Regions from separate parts of the Homo sapiens genome. Here regions 1 and 2 are each linked to region 3. Evidence: promoter capture Hi-C in 16 types of primary human blood cells and fetal thymus (Javierre and others, 2016). All regions are on one chromosome and are shown on one strand. Each heading gives the region's core, a stretch centred on a gene start or on the middle of the fragment in contact. The rest is flanking DNA. Distances are from core to core; before and after follow the strand shown. Region 1 overlaps RIMS1 (regulating synaptic membrane exocytosis 1). Region 2 has its middle 11 kb from the start of KCNQ5. Region 3 holds the start of SLC17A5 (solute carrier family 17 member 5).

The links. The method cuts DNA at HindIII sites, captures the fragments that hold promoters and counts their contacts. A CHiCAGO score of 5 or more calls a contact.
Region 1: a fragment that was not itself captured here is called in contact with the fragment with the promoter of SLC17A5 in region 3 in 1 of 17 cell types (total B cells); the score reaches 5.5 in total B cells.
Region 2: a fragment that was not itself captured here is called in contact with the fragment with the promoter of SLC17A5 in region 3 in 1 of 17 cell types (naive CD8 T cells); the score reaches 5.8 in naive CD8 T cells.

What each region holds. Positions count from the first base shown.
Region 1 is chr6:72,388,093-72,392,193 of GRCh38, forward strand. RIMS1 (regulating synaptic membrane exocytosis 1) reads left to right here. Exons shown (of 34, transcript NM_014989.7): 30 at 2,506-2,644. Among named protein-coding and RNA genes, the nearest start is that of KCNQ5, 230 kb to the right of the region's middle. RefSeq lists a silencer at 2,622-2,822. The HindIII fragment of the contact is 1,949 bases long and covers 1,119-3,067 here.
Region 2 is chr6:72,609,736-72,613,136 of GRCh38, forward strand. No RefSeq gene overlaps it. Among named protein-coding and RNA genes, the nearest start is that of KCNQ5, 11 kb to the right of the region's middle. The HindIII fragment of the contact is 1,568 bases long and covers 1,368-2,935 here.
Region 3 is chr6:73,652,448-73,656,446 of GRCh38, forward strand. It overlaps SLC17A5 (solute carrier family 17 member 5), which reads right to left and starts at 1,545. Exons shown (of 11, transcript NM_012434.5): 1 at 1,346-1,545. The coding sequence starts at 1,439. RefSeq lists a silencer at 991-1,660 and an enhancer at 2,660-2,749. The HindIII fragment of the contact is 4,556 bases long and covers 1-2,700 here.

The DNA.
Region 1 (4,101 bases), core at 843-3,342, 1.3 Mb before region 3:
TCACATAGAAATTAAATTCTAATTGGAAAACAGACCACAAACAGATAAAGGTTTAATGGCAGATGAAGCAGTGCTGTGAAGAAAAATAAAGCACAGCAAAGGGATACTATACAAAGCCTCCCTGAGGAGACAGCCTGTCTTGAAGCAGAAATCTGAATAAGGAGCAAGGCAAGAAAGTCAGAAGAGACAAACAGAAGTAAAAAAGGCCCAGAAGCAGCATGCTTGCAGGCTTGAGGAAATGCAGGGAAGACAGTGTGACTGGAGAGCATTGATCATATGGAATGAGGGGCAGAAGATGAGATGTGAGGTGTCCAAGGACCAGATGATATGGCATTTCCTGGGCCACGATAACAATTTTGGATTTTCATTTTACTTTGGTGATTAATCATTATAAGATCTTGAGCAGGGGAATGATATATTCAGATTTACATTTTTAAAGACTCACCATGGCTGTTATGTCAAGAATATTCTGAGGAGGAAAGGAATAGAAGCAGTGACACTAGCTGTACGGGTATGGCACTGCTCTTTTGAGTGATGATAGTGTCTGGACATAGGGTTGGAGCTGTGGAGAGGAAGAAGAATGACCAGACTTGTGATGCATTTTGAAGGCAAAGCCAAGAGGATTCGCTGATGGATTGGGTGTGGGGTGTGTTAGAGGAATCAAAGATGATTACAAGGATTTAGGCCTTATCACCCAAGTGAATTGTAGTACCATTTACTGTGGGAGGAGGATTTAGTAGTGGGAGGTGGTAGTGTGGTGGAGGTGGGGAAGAGTTCTGTCTTGGATATGTTAATGTTGAAGTGCCTATCAGATCTGTAAATGGAGCTACTAGGCAATTGGATTAATGACTTCAGCATTTATGGGAAAGGTTAAGACCTTGATGTATATTTGGGAGGCACAAGGGCATAGGTGGCTTTGTTAGCTATGTTAAAGCTATGTTAGAGATCACCTAGGAAGTAAGTGTAGAAGAAAGCAAAAGGTCTGAGGCCTGAGGTCTAGGGATTGTCTATTTCTAAAAATCTCAAAGAGGAAAAATCCAGCAGAAGAGACTGGGAAGTAACAACCAATGTCAAAGAAGGAAAAACGGAGAATGTGGATCACAGTAGCCAAGTGAAGAAGCTTGTATAGGTATAAAGAAAAAATAGTTCCCAAATTACTAACCATTGTCTTCCTTGAGTGGTGAAATTATAGGGGGCATTCAATGTTGGCAATTTCTGTAACATTTAAATATTTTGTAATATACATATATTGTCTTTGTAAGCAAAAATAGCAATAAAAAGGTTAAGAACAATAAAAAATAAAAATTTTAATGAACATACTAAATGTGTAGGAAGGATCAGCATTAAGTTCATATAGCATAACCTATTATATCTTTGATTAGACAATTTACAAAAGGAATCCAGTGACCAAAAATGAGAGGGAAAAAATGCAGTGTTTCAAATGGCTTATCTAAGAGTGTATTTAGGTACCTGCTTTGTAAAGGTTTTATGTGGATTGAAAAGTTAATGTGTTTATATAGTAGTTATGTATGTAATTATGTATATAGAGCATTTTTCATATATTATTAATGGGTATTATATGATACTATACAGAAACTAAAGCGAAAACCAGAAATTTATATAGGACGTATAGATGGAATAAAGTCTAACAGTTTTCCTAACCTATTGATACTGCTTATACATGTAAGCAAGTAAATATTTTAGAATTTATTTCCATGCTATGAATAGAATGCTGGTTAGTGCATTTCAAAGTGGCTCAAGAAAATTCCTCTGAGCTTATCAAGAACTGAAATGCAAATGTATGTAATTCCCAGTACAAATGGAGGTGTACACCCCAAACTGCCAGTCAGAACTCATGCAGCTGAGTCAAAAGGCCATGAGGTAGCTGTGTAGTCTTTGAATTAAGATAAAACCTGTTACACCTAACTCCATAATCTATATGGAGTAGAAATAAGTATAAATATTATATAGTGTATGTTAAAGTGCTGCAAAAATCATCAATTAAAATACTAGTTTCTCTTCATGAGGATTGCTGATACGTGACAGTAAAACTGTGGTATTTTTCAAACTGGGTTCCAAATGCACCTTCTCCTTAAAAGAACACGACCTGTCCTTTGGGACTATTCATACACATTTAGTGAATTCCGTATTAGGAGAAACCTATTAGATTGTTCACCATTATCTTTCCACAGAACAGTTGGGTGCCAAATTCAGATTTTCATTGAAGTTGTCACCATCAATAATACAATGATTTCATTTTGGCTGATTGAGATTTAGGCAGTCACTGAAACTGTGGCCATGGCATAGCATCCAGTGGTACTCCCCTTAGCCAAGCATACTTTGGCAAGGAGCCTGAATCAAGCAAAGTACTCCCTTAGGTTACTATTTTTCTGATTAAATTTGTAATTATGTGTAAAATTAACTATTGTATTTGCAGGATCAATTGATATTCAGGAGTAAACTGTCTAAATAAAACTTAGAGTTTCTTTTACTCTCTCCTGTCAGAGTCGGGCCACAAAAAGTTAAAAAGTACCATCCAGAGAAGCACAGAAACAGGCATGGCAGCTGAAATGAGAAAGATGGTAAGGCAGCCGAGCCGAGAGTCTACTGATGGCAGCATCAACAGTTACAGCTCTGAGGGCAAGTAAGTGCTGTCAGCACGTCTGCATGGCTGTGGAACCAGGAATTGTGTACTAATCAGTAAGATAACAAAGCCACTGAGTGTTACTGTGCAGCTTCTCTATTTAATCAGAAGTTCAACCATCCATTTTAAACCACCCTGATGGCTTATAAGTAAGTACACATGGACACACCTCTACACCTGGTCATTCATACCTTTCAAAGGGTGAAGAAATTCTGAGTCCACATGAACAAATTGATTTCTTGCATCTAGGAAAGCCCAGACTAGTTCCTTACTGGATGTTTAGTGTACAAATGCCACAGGTAATGGACTCTTTCATATGGGAAACTCATAGTCTGTCCCTGTCACCAAAGTCCAAGTTAAAATTTATAAGTAAGGAACTGATTTCCCATTTTCTTAATTTTCTCCAAGCTATTTTGGACCCTAAGCTTTTCTAAGTCTAACACTGTCATATATGTAAGTTACATTTTCTTGTTTTTAAAACATTGCTGACTCATTTTTACCTTAGGAAATAATCCAGGGTCTATCAGCTTCATTATTTTTCTGACTAAAATGTTTTAGTTAATTCTGAAAAAATAGAATACGATTTTTAAAAATTTACTCTTTTCGATTCTTTTTCTTTTTTTTTTTTTTTTACCATTTCATATGGATCCTGCACAAAACCTGCTTCTTCCTATGCTTGAGAATATTTCTGGTAAAATTGAATTTTTATTGAGGTAGTGGATCTTACAAATAAGTAATTAATGTGTTGTTTTGGATTACATGGAGATTCACCACATATAAATTTTCCATAATTATTTGTTCATTACCATTCACATTACTCATATACCAATTTGATATTTCTAATTTCTTGTCTTTACTGGAATTTTTCTATATTGTTTAGAAAATTTAACAGAATTATGCCAAGTTACTGTTTGTGATATTCCTTCCCATTCCTGAAACTAGTTGGTCTCTGTTTAGTTGGTCAAATGATTGGCTTGTTATGCATGTTTCCAGTAAGGAATATAAGAACAAAAATCAGCAGGTATGAAAGTTACAGAGATAAACTTACTGACAAAATACCCATATTTGATGAAGTAGCATAAAGTAATATACAAATGAGACTTGAACACATCATTTTCTGATATAAAAAAGTAACAAATAAAATTTGCCTCCATCATAAACCATTTAATCTCTTGGATTTATTTTCATGGTCTCTGGATGGGATTATAATCTGTGTCCCATTTAATTTCCTTGGTTAAAAGAAATAATAGATGTGAAAGCACAATGGAAAGAGTAAGTCTCTATAGAAATATGCTCATTCAAAAAATGCTTATTGAATGCCTATCACATAATGAGCATAGTTGTCATTACCCAGTGATAACTACATCAGTCAACAAGAAGAGAACAGGCACTGCCCTTGTGCAGCTTACATCCTGGGGCTATCAGGAAGTTGTATTATAGGAAGAAATACAGATTTT
Region 2 (3,401 bases), core at 902-3,401, 1.0 Mb before region 3:
CTATCCTATAGTAGAAGCAGGAAGTTATGTTCATTTTTAGGTATACAAAAATACTGTTATTATTTTAACCTTCTAGAATATTGCAAAGTCTGACATGCTTACTTACCTGTTGACTTTCCCTGGTTTTGTATACATTGAAAGATTTTACTTTAAGTGGAAAAATGTTTTCCATATGAACATCTAGCATCATTTCCCCAGGTGTATTATAAAAACTAAAATTCTAAATATAGAAATAAATGGTACGTAGACCAACAAATATCACCAAATGGCAGCAAGCAACACTTCCCACCTCAATACCTTCAAAGGCTGACCTAAAAAGTTTGTTTAAAGCAGGGTTTCTCAACTTTGGCAATATTGACGTTTTGGGCAGGATAATTCCTTTTTTGTGGGGAGCTATCCTGTAAGTTGTAGAATGTTTAGCAGCATCCCCGGCCTCTACAACCTGGATGCCAGTAGCAACAGTTTCCCACACCCTCCCCCATACTATGTACTAAGCCAACCAGAAACACCACCGGACATTGCAAATATCATCTGCGGGGCAAAATTACCGCTGTTGTAAAGAAGTAGCTCCAGATGAATAAATGTTTATAAAACATATTAGTTGGTTTGGGGTTGTCAAGTTTTAGGTAATCTTTCTATCATTCCATGTTATGTATTTAAGTCTGCTCTAAAAATATTTTAAATCTTTCGAAAAAATACAGTAAACTATGGCATGAATTAGGTAGGGATAATGTTTGTTCTACAGTTTTAACATAGGTGGTAGGAACTCAGCAGTTGTAGGTTGGATTGAGGAATGGATAAATTAAAACAATTCTCATTAAGGGAATGAGATAGGGGTTTGGTCTAAACTCAAGCATGATTAGTCATGACCCAGCTAGCCACTGCAGAACTGAACACTGACAGCCCAGGCAAGGGGTCCAGGCAAGGGCTGGGGAGAATGGCCTCAGCATCAGGTGTGGGCAGGAAATAGTCTGCTAGGCAGAAGAGTGTATTCTTTTTTGTAGAATTATGCACTAGCAGGTTATTCAATGTGTATAACACAGAAATGCTGGAGCCAAGATGACATCCAGAGGTTCAGTAGGTAGGCAGGCAGGCAATTGACATTGTGGAAGTAGGTAAACCTGTAACAGGACCCTAGTCACCATTTTAAGATATGGGTCAAGACTTCAATTCCTGAGAGATGACTGAAACAAAAATGAGTATATCCCATGATAGTGTACTGTTAGGCGGCAGAGATAAAGCCTTAAGCATAGAGATGACTTTAGTATATTTTCCAGAATTGAGGTTCTGGCTGTACTCATAGTCTTCCCTTGTACTGCATGAGTAGATTCATGGCAGTTTGTATGCTTTAGTGGGCAATATTTTAAAGCTTAGATTGCAATTATATTAATACATATATATGTGTTTATATATGCACTCACTAAACTACACATACATGCATGCTCTTGGCTTTAAAATATTCAAACTCTGCCAGGTGCCATGGCTCACACCTGTAATCCCAGAATTTTGGGAGGCCAAGGGAGGAGGAGTTCAAGACAAGCCTGGGCAACATAGTGAGATGCCGATTCTACAAAAAATGAAGGAAAAAAAAAAAGCTAGATGTGGTGGCTTGACACTGTAGTCCCAGCTACTCAGGAGGCTGAGGTGGGAAGATTGCTTGAGACCAGGAGTTCAAGGCTGCAGTGAGCTATGATCACAGCACTGCACTCCAAATTGTGCAACAGAGTGAGACCCTGAGACCCTGTCTCTAAAATAAAAAATAAAAAATAAAAAGTATCCAAACTCTGGAAGATTAATTTGGAATAGAAACACCATTATTCTGAGTAAATGTGATCCCATAATATAACCATATGAAAAATGTAATGAGAGTTCAAGGCTGTTTTCTAACAGAAAGACCTATAACAAAGATCCAAAATCTCAGTTCAAGGGCTTTATAGTGACCACAAACCTTGCTGTCCTAGTACCTCCCTGATAGAAGTGTCATCAAGGTACTCCCAACCAAATCATGAGAAATAATGCAGATTACCAGGGAGGTCGAGGAAGTTCTAGCTATTCCAAATTTTCCCATATATCCCATATAAGTCATCCTGAAGATATCCTCAAGAGAATCTTTGTAAAATTCATTCCTTTGGCTGGGCGTGGTGGTTCATGCCTGTAATCCCAGCACTTTGGGAGGCTGAGGTAGGCAGATCACGAGGTCAGGAGTTTGAGACCAGCCCGGCTGATATAGTGAAACGCTGTCTCTAAAATACAAAAATTAGCCGGGTTTGGTGGTGCGTGCCTGTAGTCCCAGCTACTCAGGAGGCTGAGGCAGGAGAATCGCTTGAAACGTGGAGGTTGCAGTGAGCCAAGATTGCACCACTGCACTCCAGCCTGGGCAACAGAATGAGACTCCATCTCAAAAAGTTTAAAAAAACAACTCATTCCTTTAAGAATTACAGCCCAAGGGCCCATAATCTGGGATTGATTAGCTAGGTTTTTAAAAATTATTTCCAAGAGTCTGTGAGCCTCAAAAGTTGTAATTGTATGCAAAATTATACGTTTTTTAAAACTTTTTTGAAGGCTTTCATCAAATTCTCAGACCTCTGCCGTTCAGAAAAACTTTAGAATCATAAATTCACAGATATTCTAGAATAATGAATTCAACAGCTCTCACCAGACATCTGAAATATCACAGATATTTTAGAATGAAAGGATTAAATATCCATTACCATTTGAATATTGCTGTTAAAAGTAGAATGATATGCAAAACTCTATACATTAAGGTTTACTTTGTTTAGTTGTATCTAGTAGCCCTTAATAAAATATACATCTATGACTGCATAGCCTGGTACACTATGAGACATAGTTGCTTTCATCTGCTTTTAAACTTCACAAATAGTCACCTGAACGAGATCATCTGCAAAACTTAAAGTTTCTCTTCTGGGTTATCTCAAGCTTTATTCATATAATCCATTTTTTTTTACAAGTTTACATTACTTTTTTTTTTGTATCTGCTAAATTTCAGCTAAATATTAACAATTATGGAAGCTAATGTTTCAGAGAATTAATCAGCTATTATTTCAAATTGCAGGCTAAATCACAAATGGAACCCAAGCTAAATCTTGTTATACATAAATATTAGTAGTAGTTAACATTTACTGAGTACTTATTATGTGTCAGCACTAAGATAAGACCTTTACATAAACTATTTTAGCTACCCCAAAAGTCCTGTGATAAGGATATTATTATCCTCACTTTAAACATGAAAGAAACAAAGACTTAGTGAGATTTGGTAATCAGCCAGGAATCAGGATCCCACAATTCATAAGTTTCTTTATGACTCCAAATCCTTAGCATATTTTAAAATATATTTAAATATGTATTAGTATTTATTGCTCCACTTTCGATTTTTCGATTTT
Region 3 (3,999 bases), core at 295-2,794:
GTGCCTCGTTGTAATTTTAATCTGCATTTTCCTGAGAATAATGTTTAACATTTGTGCTAAATTTTGATTATACATATACATATTTTTCAATTGTAACAATGTAATAATCTCTGGCAAATATCTTTATTATAACTTTTATTTCTGTATTTCTATATTATTTTATGAGGAATATTATACAATTTGAACACTACAAGCCACAGAAAATGATCAGTTTATGGAACTAAGTCCGACTTCCAGGTAAAACGTAACTATGGTATGGTATTTACAGTTTGTGTTGACTAAAATAAGCTCCCGGCTGCCAGATGGAGCTATAAGGTTGCCACCTCTACTGCCACCATCTGGTAACATTAAAAACAAATAAAAATATAGAAACTATACAATTCTGGGTTAGCCAAAGTCAAATTTCCAACACAACTCTTTCTCACGCACAGATCTTTGAAACTATAGAATGCATTCAAACTGATTTGTTCTTTAGTTTTCGTTACTTTTAAATAAACTATATTACAAAAGTGTCAAATAGCAAAATATTTTAATTTTCTCAAATTCAGGGAAGATGCTTTATGACGTACCTGCTTTTCGATTTGTTCCAAGACCTTTGGCAAATTACTTTAGAACTCCATAGGTATCTTGAGGATAACTGAACCTTTTCCTAACTTAAATCATAGACTGCCAGACGGAAAAAAAATGTCCTCGATGTTTTTAGTCTCTTACTGCACAATGTCAAGATATCAGCTGGGTTATACAATAGTTGCCCTCTGCATACTCACAAATGTTAACTCCAGTCCTTTTTTGTCTTCCCTCCCCGCCTAAGAAGCTACCAGGTCACATGCTGGCGGATACGCAGTGGCGGAAACCTAGCGGTGACAGGGAAGGACAGCCCTCTGCCTACTGATCTGCAGGTTTCTCCTCCAGTTTGCTCTTACACCGGGGTCCTCCGCTCGGACCTTAGCCCATTCATTTGATGATTCTCTCCCAGTTCGTTCTTCCACTGGGTCCCTTGCTCAGCACTACCCAAAATAACCACCAGCTCAGCGCCGGCTGCACCGCCGCTCCCCCGCCCCCGCCCCCGCCCCCGCCCCCGCCCGGTGGGGCTGCACCTGCCGAGGCCCCGGCTCGGCTCCGCGATCACGGTCGCGGCCCCCGGGGTTCCCGAGGGGCTTCTGCGCACCGAGGCAGGCGGGACTGAGCGGCACTCTGAACGGGCTCCCCTCTTAATGTCCCCTCGCGCCTGAGCAGCTCCGGTCCCGCCGGCGCAGGGTGCGGGTACCCGGGCCATGCCGGCCCAGAGACCGCCGCCCCCGGTACCGCTGCCCACTCGAAGCCCCTGGACGACCCCGCCGCTTACCGGCTTCGGCCCGTGGGGCGCCCGGTAGAAGAGGCGTGCGGTCCGTGCTCTCCTCGCCATCGTTCCGGGCCAGGTCTCGAACCGGAGACCTCATGACGCCTACGTGAGCAGGTGTACTCGCCACCTGGCAGAGAAGGGAGCGCCGGCCCGACAGCCCGAAGCCCCCGGGCCGAGCTGGCTGGACCGGGCGGGGCGGGGGCGATGACACCGCCCCGCGGCCACGTCTAGTCCCCGCGGTCCCGCCCAGAGGCGGCCGCGCCGACTCCGCCCCCGCCGCCATCTTAGGTGTGGGCAACTCTGGCTTGGGTTGGACTAGGGAAGCGGAGTTCTGGGAGTTCTCGTAGGATTGGCGCAAAGTGAGCCCGCTCCGCCCGCCGGTCTACGCATGCCGGGGAGCCGGTGTTCGGACGACCGTCTCCCGCTCCTGCACCCCCTTGTAAAGTGCAGGGGCCACCCTGCCCGCAGCGAGGATGAGTGGGGGCTTGCGGGCGGGCAGTGGGGACTTGAATTGCACATAATTAAGGGGAGGGCTTCGACCGAACTAGGGAAGTGGGTGGTGTGCATTTCACAACTTGACATTCGCTTGTTAGCGGTCAGTTGCCATACTGTTAGCAACCTTTGTACGATCTACCTCGTGACTGTGGCGGCATATTTACCTCGTGACTGTGGCGGCATATTGTCCCTAAAATAGCTTTTTTTTTTTTTTTTTTTTCTCCCAGGCAGGGTCTTGCTCTGTTGCCCAAGCTGGAATGCAGTGGCGCAATCGCAGCTCACTGCAACCTCCAACTCCTGGACTCAAGCGATTCTCTTCAGCTCCCCCAAGTAGCTGGGACTACAGGAGCATGCCACCACATCTGGCTAATTTTGTTTCTACTTTTTATTTTTGTAGAGGCTTGGTCTTATTATATTGCCCAAGCTGGTTTCGAACTCCTGGGCTCAAGCAATCCTCCTCGGCCTCCCAAAGTGCTGGGATTACAGGCGTGAGCCACTGCTCCTGGTCCTAAAATAGCTTTTAGGCGGAAAAACAGCAATGGAAATTTGTTGAGTCCTATGATGTTGCTGGTTTTATAGGTAAAAGTAATCAACATAGGTAGTTTCATATGGTTCGACCTATGGAATCCTCTGATGTATGTGTGCATGCTTTATCTCCACGATAGAATTTGGATAGATTGTGCTAGCATTTGCGGACTCTGAAAGTGAAACTAGGAAAACCCAGCTTGCCTTGGCAGGGCAGATCTGGATCCGCCAATAAAGGCTGTCTCTGTGGAGGTAGAAAATAAGATGTAGATGCTCTCGGAGAGTTTGGTGTAGACAGGGAAGACCCACAAGCCACTAATTCAGTAAACCAGGTTAGAAGCTTAGTGAGGTTCACGTGAGAACAAAGGGGAGGGTCCTTTACCTAGAAGGGAGGGCGAGGATTTCTGTAGGCATCCCTACCTCCAGATCAGTAAATGCTAGAAAAGTTCTCAAGTTAAAGCAGCAAATCAAGCCTTGTTTCTGAGTTACTGAATTACCATGTAGATTTTTACACTCTCTAAGGGTTGTAGAAAAATGCAATTTTCAAACTGGATTATGCAGAGTCACCTGGCAAATCCTTTTAAAATGTAGATTCAGATTCAGCAGATCTGGTGTGATGGTTAATTTTATGTGTTAACTTGCTGGTTGTCTTTGGATGAGGTTAACACTAAAATCATTGAACTCTGGGTAAAGATGGCTGCCTTCCATAATCTGGGTGGGCTTCCTTCAATCAGTTGAAGGCCTATCTAGAATAAAAAATCCGACTCCCCCACTTCTCTTGCCCAAGCAAGGGAGACTTCTCCAGCAGAGTGTCCTCAGACTTCATCTGCACCACAGGTCCTCCTGGGTCTCCAGGCATGTGCACCATCATCTGTTTTGGGTCGAGTTGGCCAGCCTATATTGTGAAAGCCAAAACTTTATTACCCAAACTACCCAATTGGGGCTGTTTCTCTGAGAAGCCCAGTACATCTGGGATGTGCCTGAGATTCTGTATTGCTAACAAGCTCCCAGATGACCAAGGTTATAGATAACTTGGGCCAGGGAATATAGTTGCAACAGACTTGAAAGACTTCAAACCAGAGGAATTCTTTTTTTTAATATTTTTTATTTTAGAAATTTTAGGTTTACATAAACGTTGCAAAGATAGTACAGTGAGTTCTCCATACCCTTTGCTTAGTTTGACCTATTATTAAGATCTTACATTAGTATCATGCATATATCATAACTAACGAGCCAGTATAGATAATTATTAACTGAAGTTCATACTTAATTTGCGTTTCTTTAATTTTTACCTAATATCCTTTTTCGGTCCCAGGATCTCATCCAGGATGCCACATTACATGTCTCCTTAGGCTCCTCTAGATCGACAGTTCCTGACTTTCATTGCTTTTGCTGACCTTGACAGTTTTGTAGAGTACTGGTAGGTTTTGTAGAAAGTGTCTTAATTTGGGTTGTCGAATTTTTTTTTGAGACGAGGTCACGCTCTGTCGTCCAGGCTAGAGTGCAGTGGCACGATCTCGGCTCACTGCAGCCTCCACCTCCCAGGTTCAAGCGATTCTCCTGCCTCAACGTCCCGAGTAGCTGGGACTATAGGTGCATGCCACCACGCCCGGCTAATTTTTTGTATTTTTAGTAGA